Linked DNA regions of Homo sapiens: region 2 is linked to region 1. Evidence: promoter capture Hi-C in human tissues and cell types (Jung and others, 2019). All regions are on one chromosome and are shown on one strand. Each heading gives the region's core, a stretch centred on a gene start or on the middle of the fragment in contact. The rest is flanking DNA. Distances are from core to core; before and after follow the strand shown.

Region 1 (6,884 bases), core at 485-2,984:
CTTAGCTATTGTGAATAATGGGGCAACAAACATGAAAGTGCAGATATCTCTATGAGGTGCTAATTTCATTTCCTTTGGGTATATACCTGAAGAGGGTTTGCTGGGTCATGTCATAGTCCTATTTTTAATTTTTTGAGGAACCTCCATACTGTTTTCCATAATGGCTGCACCAATTTACATTCCTACGAAAAGTATATGTAAATTGACTAAATTTGCCAGTCAAAATATAAATACTGCCTGGGTTATAATACACCATTATTATGGTGTAACACACCATATATTATAGTGTGATATATGACATTGTGTGACCTTGGCCAAGTTTACCTATCCTTTGTATGCCTCAGCTTCCTCATCTGTAAATAGGTCTGAAGACAGTACCTAGCTAAATGGTTGTTGTAAGGATTAACTGAGTTAAAACACACAGAGCAAATAGAGTAGCGTTTATCACATAATAAGGATTCAAATATAAGCTACTATTATGTTATCTTTGACACCCCTCGTTTCTACAGGAATAATTAAGAATCAATTATCCATCCAAGCATTTGGGAATTAATTTTAAAAAATCAATTATCCAGTTATATTTTTCAGAATTAAGATGTCTGAATATTTGAGAGGGGGCATTATCTGAAGAAATGGTTACCTCTTGGCCAATCTTATGGTACAAATACAAAGTCCATATATTCCCCTCCCCGCCTCCTTTTTTTTTTTTTTTGTTTGGTAGAGACAGGGTCTCCTTATGTTGCCCAGGCTGGTCTCTAATTCCTGGGCTCAAGTGATCCTCCCGCCTTGGCTTCCCAAAGTGCTGGGATTACAGGTGTGAGCCACCGCAACCTGGCCAATGTATTTTCCAAGCAATTACTATTCTTCACCTTGTGTGTAGAGTTTGTGAATGAAACAGATTTTTTTTTTTTTTTTTTTTTTTGAGACAGGGTCTTGCTGTGCTGTTCAGGCTGGAGTGCAGTGGTGCAATCATGGCTCACTGCAGCCTCGACCTCCCGGGCTCAAGCCATCATTCCGCCTCGCTTCCCAAGTAGATGGGACTTGCCCGGCCCGAAGCGGAACTACTGAGTTTCCTTATTTTGGAGGCAGTAATCAAATAAAAAATACCAAAACCTTAAATGATAATCAGTTTGCTACTTTATTTGGGACAAAAGAGAATTCTATATTTCATCCATCCATCACTTCACTGCTCAAAGACTTTGCCCCTTACCTATTTCTCCCTTCTTGGTCATAAATGTTAGGGCTTTATATGCAAAGCCCTGTGCTTTCTCCGATCAAGTCCAAAAGCTTGTATGAGCCACTCCTTGGATAAGAAGGGGATGGGGCCTTCTAGATGCTGTAAGTATCTCTTATATTGAACTCAGAATTGTTCTGACTGGCAGTTTATGAAGTTCTTCCCCTACTCCTCCCATCGCCAATTTTTCTTGCCCCAAACATTTATACCTCAGGGTTAAGAAGCCAGGTAAGTGAGGGGGTGTGACTCGCCCAGTCTTTCGTTGGAAAAAAGTGTAGACCTGTCAGGAAGACACAGCATAGAAAGGCTGCATGTGCTGATTTGAACTCGAGCCTCAGTAAAACATTGAAATGAATGAACACCAACCGGAAGGGAAAGAAGAGGGGAGGGGATAAGGAGCCTGAGGATTGGTTTGCCCCGCGGGATGGTCCGCGCCTGAGCCATGGGAGGCGGGGTGCCCGCCGGCAGAAGTAAACAGAGCGAGTACGCCTGCGCACGCTCTTCCTGGGTCAAGAGCCGGCTCGGTTCTGGGATTCTGAGGCTCCCCACCGCGGTCCGGCTTCTCTGGGAGACTGTCTACAAACCGACGAGAGGCGTCAACCTTTTACCCTAGGGGGCGGATTTGGGTAGGAGCCGAGCGTTCGGTCGGAAACGCCCCCTTCTTCCTCCTGGGCGGGGCAAGTGAGGCCAAGTACTGGGCCTCCAGGGCGTCGTACCTCTGTGAGACATGGCTCGCTGTGGGGAAGGCAGTGCGGCCCCCATGGTACTTCTGGGGTCCGCTGGAGTTTGCAGTAAGGGGTTGCAAAGGAAGGGGCCGTGTGAGCGGCGCCGGCTGAAGGCGACGGTGTCGGAGCAGCTCAGCCAGGATTTGCTCAGGTAGGAGGAGGCGGGAACTCTGGCTGCTTCAGTTCCTAAATCGCCCACCTCCGCCCCGAAGCTGAGGCTTCTTTCGGCTCTGCCTCCCCCTCCCTCAGCACTTGGTTCTCCTCGCCTCAGGCGACTGCGGGTCGTTAGCCAGTCTCCCCACTATTCCGAAAAGTGGCTTCGCTCGCCCTGAATAAACAATCCCGAGCACCTCGACACCATGTACCAGATTCAAAAGGAAAACAAAAAAAGCTTAGTCGTGTGCAGCACTAGTTTGCTAGAAATATCTCAACACAGGCACGCTTAGTTGTTTCCAATCACTAAGGTCGGGTGGATCCAGGTCCTGAAACTTACACAATTTTTAAAATAAGCTTATACTATTTTAAGAAAAATAATAAAATTAGGAAAACGATTATTTGAAATGAGGAAAGAACAATACTATAGTCTTGGAGGTCTCTTCTGAGGTCTCTTTAAACAATTTACCAGAAATGCTTCCTGATTGCGACCTGGATTCCTCTCTCCACCTAGAGCTCTCTGTAGCTCCCAGCAACTCTCAGCTCCTGTGAGGACCAAAGCAAATGGAGGGTCTTCCTGACATTTAACCTTTGTAAGCCTCATGGATATCCTTCTCGGGTTATTGGGAATCCAGCTAAAGTAATTTCAGCTTACAAAGAAATTGAAGCTTAGAAATATGACCTAGCTAATTTACATTTCCAGCAAGACATTGATTCTTAAACTTGGGTGGGCATCACTGAAATTTTCCATTTCTAACAAGGCCCCAAGTGATGCTAATGCTGCTGGCTAGGGTGACTATGAGAACCACTGAGGTAAACATAATTACTAATAATTAAAAGTTGTGCAGCATTCTACTTTTTTTTTTTTGGAGACGGAGTCTCGCTCTGTCGCCCAGGCTGGAGCGCCGTGGCGCGATCTCGGCTCACTGCAACCTCCACCTCCCGGGTTCAAGCCATTCTCCTGCCTCAACCTCCCGAGTAGCTGGGATTACAGGCACGCGCCACCACGCCCGGCTAATTTTTGTATTTTTAGTAGAGACGGGATTTCATCATGTTGGCCAGGCTAGTCACGAACTCGTGACCACAAGTGATCCGCCCGCCTCGGCCTCCCAAAATGCTGGGATTACAGGCGTGAGCCACTGCGCCCAGCCAGGATTCTACATTTTGAAGTGCTTTCTGTCAAAAACTCACCCATACTTAAGGCTCCGATAGCTATAAACAGAATTTATCAAAGTAAAAAAAAAATCCCTTTAATTTGGGACTATCTACTGGGGAAGCTACTTTGTCTCTACCAGGGAGGGACTGATGAAAAAGATGGAAAAAATAATACTAAAGTTGTTAACGTTTCTAGGGTAACACATCTAATTTATATGAAGAAAATGAGGTTAAAGTATTGCTAGTGAACAATTTATCCTTATCTTAGTTACAACTGAGGGTAGGACTCAGAACTCTCAAATTCTTATTATAAACAAAGAAAAATAGATGTAGCAAGGTTTTTTTTTAAAACAAAACAAAACAAAATGCTCACCCAACCACCTTAAATGCTATACTAAATTAATTTTCTCCAAGCATAGCAATGTCATTTATTTATTCTACAAATACTAATGAAGTATCTAGCACTGACCACGTACCTAGCCCGGTACTAGGTCTTAAGTAATAAACGTTAATAAAACATTGCTTTGTTGTTTGTCCTTACACTCTAGTGAGAGAGGAAATGGCTAAATAAAAGTGATAGTTGTGGTGGGGTGAGTTGGGAAGACTTTATAGGGTGACATTTGAGTGAGCTCTTAGGGATTGGTTAAGAATTGATTAGGTAAAGATTGGGAAGGGAGAGGTAGAGGATATCTAAACAAGGGGAATAACTTTTATGGAAGCACAGAAATTTGAAAGAGCTTGATTGATTTTGAGAAAGCAAGTCGTATTAGACTCTGCCAAATAGTAAGGAACAGAGACACTCCTAGGTTACCTGACGTGACAAGATATGTAGAGAAGTGAGGAAAAGTGGGAGACAGTTTTAGCTGTCAAAAAGCCAGCTCCAATGTAGAACTGGAAAGTTGTTTGGGATATGGTAACAGTCATACAATAAGACCACATTGACAAATGGACTGTTATTCAGGGCAGTGGTAAAAAAAAAACACTAATACTTATTGCCATCCTACTATTTGCTATACACTGGGCTTACATGAAATGTTTTACTTACTTCTCTCATGAATCCTGTGAGGTAAGTCTTGTTATTCTCATTTAACACAAGAGGAAACTGAATGTTAAAAAAGAAATGATGGTGGCACCTATAGTCCCAGCTACTTGGGAGGCTGAGGCAGGAGAATTGTTTGAACCGGGGAGGTGGAGATTGCAGTGAGCTGAGATCAAGCCACTGCCCTCCAGTCTGGGCGTCAGAACAAGACTCTGTCTCAAAAAAAAAAAAAAAAAGTGGTGGAGTCAGAATAAGAACCTTGGCAATCTGGCTCCAGAGACTTTCAAATGACTTGCCCAGGGTCACATAACCAGAATATGAACCCAAGCAGTCTGCCTCCTCTACAGTAAACTGATCTTCCAGTTAACTTTGTACCTTCATCTCCTCTTCTCTCCTTACCCATTTCTTTTTCTACCATAGATTTGCTTAAGAATGCTCTTCAGTGCCATCAGTTGGTTCATGTTTATTATAGAACATCTTTGCTCAAGTTCTCCTGCTTGATTACTGCATTGGCCAGTGGCTAACCTTGGTTTAGCCCATTGTCCATTCAGATGTGATTAGGATGTAGGGGCATGTGGTACAAACCAGGGCCACATATAAGTAATAAATAAATTTGGTAGCTTTATTCGGAAGGAGATTGCATGGCAGGCAATCAAAGTGACAGTAGGTAAGGGTGAATGGGTAGACTAAGACTGGATCACAGGGGCTTTCTTTCTCCAGTGAAATGTTTGTGATGTATCTAGAAGGAGTGGAGAACCATCGGTGTTTTTAAAATAGGGAATTAACACATTTTGAATCTGGAATTTAAGGAAAGGAAAATTGGAAACAAGGAGACCAGCTGGGAGATTTTATAGTCCAGGGATACATAATGGCAGTGGAAATGGAACAATTGATAGGCTTGGTGACTGATGACATGCTGGGGAACAGGGAAAAGGAAGCATTGAAAATGGCCCCAAATCTTAGGACATTTGAAAGGGAAACATGTAGGCTACTACCATACCACCCTGAACAAGCCTGATCTTGCCTGAAAGGGAGGTGTATAATGAATGTCCAGCAAGCTATATCCAGGAAACAACTGGAAATATGTCTGGAGTAGAGGAGGGGAGTTTGACTAGCAGATTGGTAGTATCACTAGCACCTAGTTATCCAAATATGAGAAAGAGCCAAGTTATTCCTTCCCTGCCAATTTTACCAACTCGTGCCAATTTTATTACGTAAATATATTTTAATTTTATCCCATCTTTATCACCATTGATCCTCTCCTGGCTTCATTCATCTGTGCGGTAGTTTTCTCATCTTCATTCTCATTTTCATCTAACTCCTCTTCTACACAAATTTATATATTTTGAAAAATAAATTTGCCATTGTTTCAAACCATTTGCAGGGCAAACACACCTGATAGCAATAATGTAGGCATACACTTAAAATGACCCTGTATGGTGGATGTACCTGCGTGTGTTGCGAGCTAGGGAATCTGGGAGTCGCCATCCCAGAGATTCGTTCCTTGTCTGTGAGGAACATCTGAGCTCCTGGGCCCATACTGTGGAACACAGGCTGTAAAGGGGATTGAAGCCCTGGGTTAGGGTTGTATGAAGGTTGCCAGGTGGAGGACATTAAAGGAAGGGGGTTAAGTGAAAATGCTGTATAAACTTCCATGCTGTTTGCAAGGGTTTGCAGTTTTCCTGCTCAGTCCACCACCACTGGACTGTAGGTAAGGTGGATATCTTGTCCAGCCTGCCACCACTGGACTCTCTCCCCTGTATGTAAGCCCCTAATAAAAGCCCATATCTTGTTTGCTGGCTCTGGGTCTCTTCAGCCTCTGGAGCCTGGTGCCTTCCCTACTGAGGTTAATAGAGGTTCAGCACACACAATTTTATGACTCCTCTTTCACTGTAGGGTACAGTTAAGCTCTTTGCCTCTTATTCATCTTTATCTCTGCAGCTTCATCTGCCACTTCGCACCCTCTCAGTACTCTGTGCTGACCAACATATAGTTCCACACTCACACATATCTTTGTAAGGAACATGGAGCCAGGCACTTACTTACCTTGCCTTAGTTCCCTAACCAGCTCTTACTCAGTCTTTAAAATCCCATTGGGTTTTCATGCCCTCTGTGAGGTCTCCTCTTTTGTCTGTCCCTGAACAAAATTTACTTATGCTATTAAATATATCACACACTTTAATTTTCAGACCTGGCTTCCCTACTATACTATAAACTCCCTGAGGATAGGTATTATGTTTTAGTCATCTTTATGTTCCCAGTGCTTAGTACATAGTATGTGCTCAATAAATGTTTAGTGCTGAGTTTTATCGGCAGTGTAAATTGCTTTAGATAAGTTATGCTATGGTTTGAATGTTTGTCCTCTCAAAACTCATGTTGAATTTTACAGGCCTGGCTGGGCACGGTGGCTTATGCCTGTAATCCCAGCACTTTGGGAGGCCAAGGCGAGCAGATCACTTGAGGTCAGGAGTTTGAGACCAGCCTGGCCAACATAGTGAAACCCCATCTCTACTAAAAATACAAAAACTAGCCTGGCATGGTGGTGCGCACCTGTACTCCCAGTTACTCAGGAGGCTGA
Region 2 (7,465 bases), core at 4,018-6,517, 680 kb before region 1:
TTCATGAATTGTCTATTCCAGGAAACTTCTCTACATGTTATCCCTTAAAAGTACCATGAATGTCCTATCTCCATTCTTTTTCTCTTGCTCTAACACTCTGCCTTCAAATGCCCACTTCTTCTCTTTCTATAGGAATTATCAAATCCTTCAAAGCCTCCTGAAGTCTCCCCCTACTACCCAAAAAGCCTGACCTGACTGTGTACTCCAAGACGACCTTCCTTCCAAGTCTGAAATTTCATTGCATGAACATATGCTTGTCATTTGCTTTGCACATATTTTTGACCATATTTTCAGAAAAACAACCGTATATTACAAAATTTGCATTGGCCAGACCTGATTAACACATGTTGCCCCAGTTGGATGTGCTCTTTCACTCTCAAAAGTGTCACAGTATAGATGATTATTTACATGGTCCTATTACTTATTAATGTCTTTCCATTTGTGTGTTTAATCTCTTCAACTAGATTTTAAGTACTTTGTAAGTAAAAGTCTGTTTCATCCTTTTTATAACCCTTTCAACTTTCAATCAATATTTGAATGAACAAGTAAAATAATGAGGCAATTAATACACCTCATTAAAATAGGATAATACAATACACTAAAAATACACAGAAAATTCAAAATTGAACAATGCACATGAAAATCCATAAAAGCCAGTATTTAACATACTACCTACTCTCTAGTCTTGTTTTCTTTGGTCTCACATCTTTATTCCCGCCCCTACTTCCTGCCAGCATTTAATGTGCCTATCATACTTTGCCTTTGGCATACTGTCCATTCTGTTTCCAGATGGTGACGTCATTCCTTGTCCTGAGCTACTCTTTGAGCATTATTTCCCATCTTTAGCTTGGCCAAAAATAATCTGAACAAACCAGAAATACAAATAAATGCAAGCCAAATAGGCAAGAATCTTTTTTTTTTTTTTTTCTTTTGATAGAGTTTCACTCTGTTGCTCTGGCTGGAGTGCAGTGGCGCCACCTTAGCTCACTGCAACCTCCGCCTCCGGGCTTCAAGCAATTCTCATGCCTCAGCCTCCCAAGTAGCTGGGATTAGAGGCATGCGCCACCAGGCCTGGCTAATTTTTTTGTGCTTTTAGTAGAGACAGGGTTTCACCATGTTGGCTAGGCTGGTCTTGAACTCCTGATTTCAGGTGATTCACCCGCCTCAGCCTTCCAAAGTGCTGGGATTACAGGCGTGAGCCACTGCGCCTGGCCCAAATCTATTCTATTTTTAAAATTATAACATTTAAGATGTTAAACTTCAGTTACTCCCCTATACTACTGGTAAGAGAATTCCATGTTTACCAAATATGTAACTGAAATATCGTTCTGTTGATTCCTCATTTTTATTTGTATATTTACCAGAGAGAAAGCTAAAACTCACCCAAATTCAAAAAACCCTAAAGTAATATACTATGCTATCAATCTTTAAGGGAGACTTACTTTTCAACTTCATCTGGTTTTTCAAAAAACAAATTTTCCAAAGAAAACAGGCAATCATTTGATTTCAGCATTGTTGAAAACTGGACTTTGTCATAAATCTACAAAATATGGAAAAAGTAGTTTATATTTTATTTATAAAGATGTAAAAAAATATTTCTGTATAATCACTAATTTTCCACAGTCTCCTGTAAAATATAACCACAGACTATCCTTCCAGCTTCATCGTCTGCAACTTCCTTCAAAGCACCTCAATATTCACATACATTATTCTCTGTTTTCCATTCATTCATGGATTCACACTTGCTCCCTTCTCTTCATAGTGCTCCAATGCTTGGAATGTGTTTTCTGCCATTCTCCAACTGGCAAATTCCTAACCATCCTTCAAGTTATAGGTCAAATGTCATTTCTTCTTCAAAGGCTTTTCTGAATTTGTCTTCTTCCTCAAGGCAGAATTAATCAGTCTTCTTGGGCTCTTAATACTTTGTTCACACCATTATTTTCAAGTTAGGACAGCACATTTTATTGTGAATGTGTGCACCTCTAACAATATACTATGTACATATGCAGGGATTTGCTTCAAAATAAAGGGGAGAGATGAAGGAGTATTGAAATAATATTGACAATGAGTTGATCAAAGCTAAAGCTATGTAATAGGTACATGGGGTTCATTATAATATTTTTTCATAGGTTTGAACTTTTTCAAAATAAAAAAATTACAAGTTTAACATACATATGCATATTTATTTATATGAGTTAATGCATATACTACACACGTTTACATTCTTTTTTAAAAGATAATTTTTGCACTCAGAGATATTATCTAAACATAAAGGATAAAAACATTCAGCATTGGCCACCTTTGAACATAACAAAAATCTGGGGCTGAACAAAGATGCAAATGTGATTAAAAAAAAAAACTAGTCTCTAGATACATACATTGCTCCCATTAGAATTATTTTTCCCTGCATATCCTATTTTTTTCTAAATTCTTAAACATCATAGAACATTCTATATGACAAACCATAAAATCAGACGAACAAACTGTAAAACATAAATCACATTTCTGTTTCTTCTGTTTTAGTTAATACATTGTAAATTTGTCCTCAAGATAGAAACTACAATCAAAGAAATTCTATTAATGCCATCTAGTGGAGAAATACGCATTACCAAGTCAGATTATGTCTCTCCAATTTTGAATCCTCCTTGATGTGGGGATGAGATACAAGTGGGAGTGATATGGGGAAGGGAGAATGTTTCCACATACAACACTTGACAAATGCTACTGTATGAGAACTAAACCTGTATATATACTTCAGGGCTGTTCTTACTGATATAGAATATTGTGGGGTTTTTCACTGTTTTCGTTATTGGGTTCTTCCCCCTTCCATCTGTTTAATATAATTGCCCTCTTCATTTTTCTCTATCTATTAATCAGTTACCAACAAAAACAAGTAGTAAAAATGAAACAAACTAGTGTGGTTCTATAAATGTCTAAAACAATTTGACTATACGAAAAATAGAAGCCTAGGATAATAGGGCAGGAGGTAGAGGGAGTCATTCAGAAATATGCGAAGTCTTTAACAGCTTTAAGTAAACAATTTCAGAACTTGAAAACAATTATCTGAAAAAGTATAAATGAAAATGTTAATCATGTTTTTATATTGCCCAAAAAGTAACAAATAAAATGTTCCCTTTCTAGTTTTAGGAAAACTATGTTCAAACAAAAGAAACTTTTCCTAAAATAAACCTCACCAGACCAGTTTCATATGGCTTTGCTACCTCAGAATTTAAGTCAAAAATCTTAAGGCTAACATTTATACACTTGAATACTTTCTTCCTAAAGCAACTACAAATAGACAACAAAACTACAAATTTAAAACATTTGGGAAGAAAAGCGTTGCATAAACTGACAAAAACCTCCTATACAAACAGCAAATATTTTCAAAAGAATTTTTGATTTCTAGTTCTAGCATACAAGAATATAACTTGTTTGGGTTCAGAATAAAAATATCATGTACATATTTTAGTTCTTATATACTCCTGTGAAAAAACACCCCTTATCTAAAACTGCATCCTCTCATTCCGCATTATTTTTCTTCATAGCATGAACTGATAACTAACATTATAGTATATGCTTAGTTGTTTATTATGTTTCTCCCTTTAGAGCAAGCAGGGACTTTTTGCTCATTAATGTGTTCCAATAACCCAGAATAGTGCCTGGCACACAGTAAATGGTCCATAAGAATGCATTGTGGAATAAATGCATTAGCAAGAACCAGTTTATAAAAATAGTGTCAAATAAAAATAATTTTCTGTTAATTTAGAAACTTAAAATTTGAGCCCCAATCTTCAACGTTCAGTTAAAAAATGTGAAATTTTTTTCTAGTTCAGGATTTATGTAAATAAAATCATGAAGGTTCTAAAAGATGATGAATTTGGCACTTTCATTATGTAAATCTTTTTTTAAAAAAGAAACACAGGTCCTAAAAGGGACCTTGCTACAGTTCAGTATGAGTTTGTGATGTGAGGGGATGCTATTTTAAATTAATTAAAGTTCTAGGTTTAGATTCAGATTTTTTAAGTTCCTATTATTTATTATTAAAGTTTTAGTTTCAGCACGTGGCACAAAATTAGATTGCCAAACACAATAAACAATATCATCCCAGGTAGTTTTAAGTGTCTGCTCTGCTATAATCACTGTTAAAATACTTAAGCTATTTTTGAGTCTACATAATTTGCGGTGCCGACCTTCTCTAGTTATATTAATGACAATCTCTAGTTAAATATTAATACAACTAGATACAATTAATCTTTAGTTATATTAATGACAATTCACCATTTTGTCTTCTGTAATCTTTACTTATTGTATAAAATTATTGTATACAATTATTGTATAAACTTATTGTATAAAATTGCAGGCCTATTACTTCTTACAATTTTTACTCAGAAACATACTCCTTATTTTAAAAGTACAGAAACTCAGATAAAAATTATTGATTTGCTAGAAATTTTTGTGAGTTAAGGAAGAAGTAGGGACCAACATTTACGGGAATAACCGACCGTCACAAATAACTGCAGAGAATCTGACAAAGAAGGAAAAATCAACGGGAACAAATTACTCCGAGGCTCGGCCTGGGAAAGGACCATACAATTGTCGGAGCCCCAGATCTCACCCCCTCTCCCCAGGCACCAACAGGGCTGGCTGGAAGGGTCCGGCTGGGGACCGAATCAGCACCTAAAGCAAAATAACAGCTCTGTGGATTTCCTAAGGAGAATATCCTAAATCCAAGGCAGAGGCCTTAGGGCCCCGAGAGTGGCACAAGAACGGGGCGCTGGGGCGCGTCACTCCACCCCCCGGGTCCCGTTTCCTCCCACCGCTGTGAAACCCGCGGCTCAGACAGATGGGTACGTCCCCCCCAGCGCTCGCTCAGGGGGCGCCACACACCGGAACACAAGACACAGGAACCGAACACCAATCAGCCGACTTTAGGGGCGGGCCGGACGCCCAGCCGGTCCCACCTCGCGGGGAGCTGGGCCCGCCCTGCGCCCGAGCGCGCCGCAGGCCTCACCGCTTTCTGACTGGAAATGCGGCTGAGGCGCTGGCGCGGGCCGGCGGCCTGGAGACGCCTGGTGACCAACAACTCGCCGCGCCCGTCCGCTGCCTGCCCGGCAGACGGCTCTAGAGATCGACCGCTGCCCGGACGGCTCGGCTGGGTCCCCACTTCCCCGCGGGCGTCGGGCCCCCGTCCCCACCTTCCCCGCGGGCGTCCGGGCCCCTCTCCTCACCTCCCTGCGGACAGCTCCTAGGCCAGTCGAGCGCCGATTTATCAGCCCCTCTGAGGACCGCCAAGCCTGGCTAAGCCGAGCTCCAAGCAATGGATCGCCCAAGCCCCCAACCTCTCCCTTCCTACCTTTTTTTCTCCGAAAGTTTATAACTGGTTTTGAATATATCTCTTGCAGTTTACTGTGTCTATTCTCTTTAAATACAGCTCCTAATCCTGGGTTCTAAGGGTCTACTAAATGGTACCCTTTCCCTAAGCTAACCTGCTTCTCTACCCCCACAACCACCACTCCACAAACATACCCCAACCTGCCTTTCTCATCAAAGTTAGCCAGGCCTCAGCTCTGGGACTTCCGGTCTCTTCGTACCTAAAAAGTGTTTTACCTATATTATTTATAAAATATCACAGTGGCACTCATGAGGTCGGTATTACTGGGGAACTTGATTCAGAAATAAAGTTAAATTTCAGAAATAAATATTCTAAAACACAATGATATTTAAATGTGTTTAGCCAACATGAATTTATAAAAACAGGGCAATAATGTGTTCTTAGGCTGTAAACATGAACAAACTATAAATTATCCTTTTAAGTTTCTTTAGAATTGTCCTCTGAAGATTTGGCAGGGAATGTTTTGTAGATGATAAAATAGCAACGAATCAATGATGCTTTTCTTACAGAGACATTTATCTTTCCTTTGGAAACCCCCACCTGTGACATCTAGGGCCAACCTACTGCTGTCTGACTGCCCTATTCCTGTTCTCTTTTTTCTTGCAGTTCTACTGTTCATTAGCTATATGACCTTGGAAAAGACCCAACCTTTAAGTCTTAATTCTGCATCCTCAGTGATACTCATAAGCTCTAACTCCTAGATACTGCTGCAAGGGTTAAATAAAATAATATTTGCAGTAGTCCTACCACACAGTAAATGCTCATGAATATTAATTTCTTTCACCTTCTCTGAAATGTAAAATTATTCCAGTAATTGGGTGAGCCAGTTATTTGGATACTGATAAAATAACAAGTCTTTGTCTCTTGGAGAAAATAACATTTTGACTGCATAAACTATTCTTAATAGAAAGGTTGAATTATCATTCCTCTCAAAAATACTGGAGAGGAAAGTTACTTTCCATAGACTGCATAGAGGAAAATAACGAAACAGTGCATTTGTTATAGTGAACCCCTCAATGTGTTGAAATTCATACATTGAATTCTAACCCCCGATGTGATGATATTTGAACGTGGGACTTTTGTGAGGTAATTAACTCAAAAGGGTAGAGCCTTCATGAGTAGGATTGTGCCCTTTTAAGAGGCCAGAGAGTTAGCTCGCTCTTTTCCTACCATGTGAGGATACAGGAGGACGGTATCTGCAAGCCAGGAAGGAGGCCCTCGCCAAATACCGGATCTGCCTGCACTGTGATCTTGGACTTCTCAGGCACCAAAATTGTGACAAATGTTTGTTGTTTAAGCCACCCAGCCTATGGTAATTTGTTATAGCAGCTTGAACTAAGATAGGGTTTGAGTGATAGAATTGTAGAATTCAGCAACAGGCAGGTACAGGGGAGTCTTACTGTCAAAGCACACAGTAGCAAATGGCCACCATGTTCATAAACAAAAACATTCATTCATTCACTCACTCATTTATTCAAGAATGCATGTGGAATCTATAGAGCCTTACTTTCTCTTAAAATAATGTAATAAAAATGTCAAAGCTGCAGTTTTTAAAAGGAAGCCTCAGGACAGTGATAAAGTTACTAAAAATCCCATTTTGGGGGGAGGGATTACCATGGTTTTTAGTAATGTTGCCACATTTCTCAAGAAAACATTTTAATCCTAAAGATTTAATTTTACAACCAGTGCAACAATGTCATAAGCAATCCTCCAAATTGAATAACATAACTAACATTTGAAATATAGTCTTCCCGGTCAACTTCTGGCATGACTGCATAAAGAGCTTTGCTACCTCACTTCTCAGTGAAACTGGTGAAAATTCTAGAAAAATGACTCAGACCCTCTGGAAATGATCCTAAGGGCAAACAGCAAAAGAAGAAACATCTTTTCAAGAAAGAGATACAAAAATTTGGTAAGAAAGGCAAGGCTCTGTGGTATTTTATCCAAGACTCCCAAGTTCCAGCTTAGCAAGACAGGCTCCATTCTAGACAGCTGCAGCCAAGAATACAGAGCTCTCTCTGCACCCAGCTCCCACTAGAAGGCGCGCTTTCTTTCTTTCATTGTGGTAAAACA

The links. Contacts are between HindIII fragments. The study calls those that stand out against the background at their distance.
Region 2: a contact is called between the fragment with the promoter of HFM1 here and the fragment with the promoter of BTBD8 in region 1, in 1 of the 25 tissues and cell types used here (thymus).

The regions. Positions count from the first base shown.
Region 1 is chr1:92,078,611-92,085,494 of GRCh38, forward strand. It overlaps BTBD8 (BTB domain containing 8), which reads left to right and starts at 1,735. Exons shown (of 18, transcript NM_001376131.1): 1 at 1,735-2,110. The coding sequence starts at 1,962. RefSeq lists an enhancer at 3,008-3,675. The HindIII fragment of the contact is 3,183 bases long and covers 1-2,624 here.
Region 2 is chr1:91,399,570-91,407,034 of GRCh38, forward strand. HFM1 (helicase for meiosis 1) reads right to left here and starts at 5,268. Exons shown (of 39, transcript NM_001017975.6): 1 at 5,229-5,268; 2 at 1,443-1,540. The coding sequence starts at 1,513. RefSeq lists a silencer at 4,863-5,242. The HindIII fragment of the contact is 20,002 bases long and covers 1-7,465 here.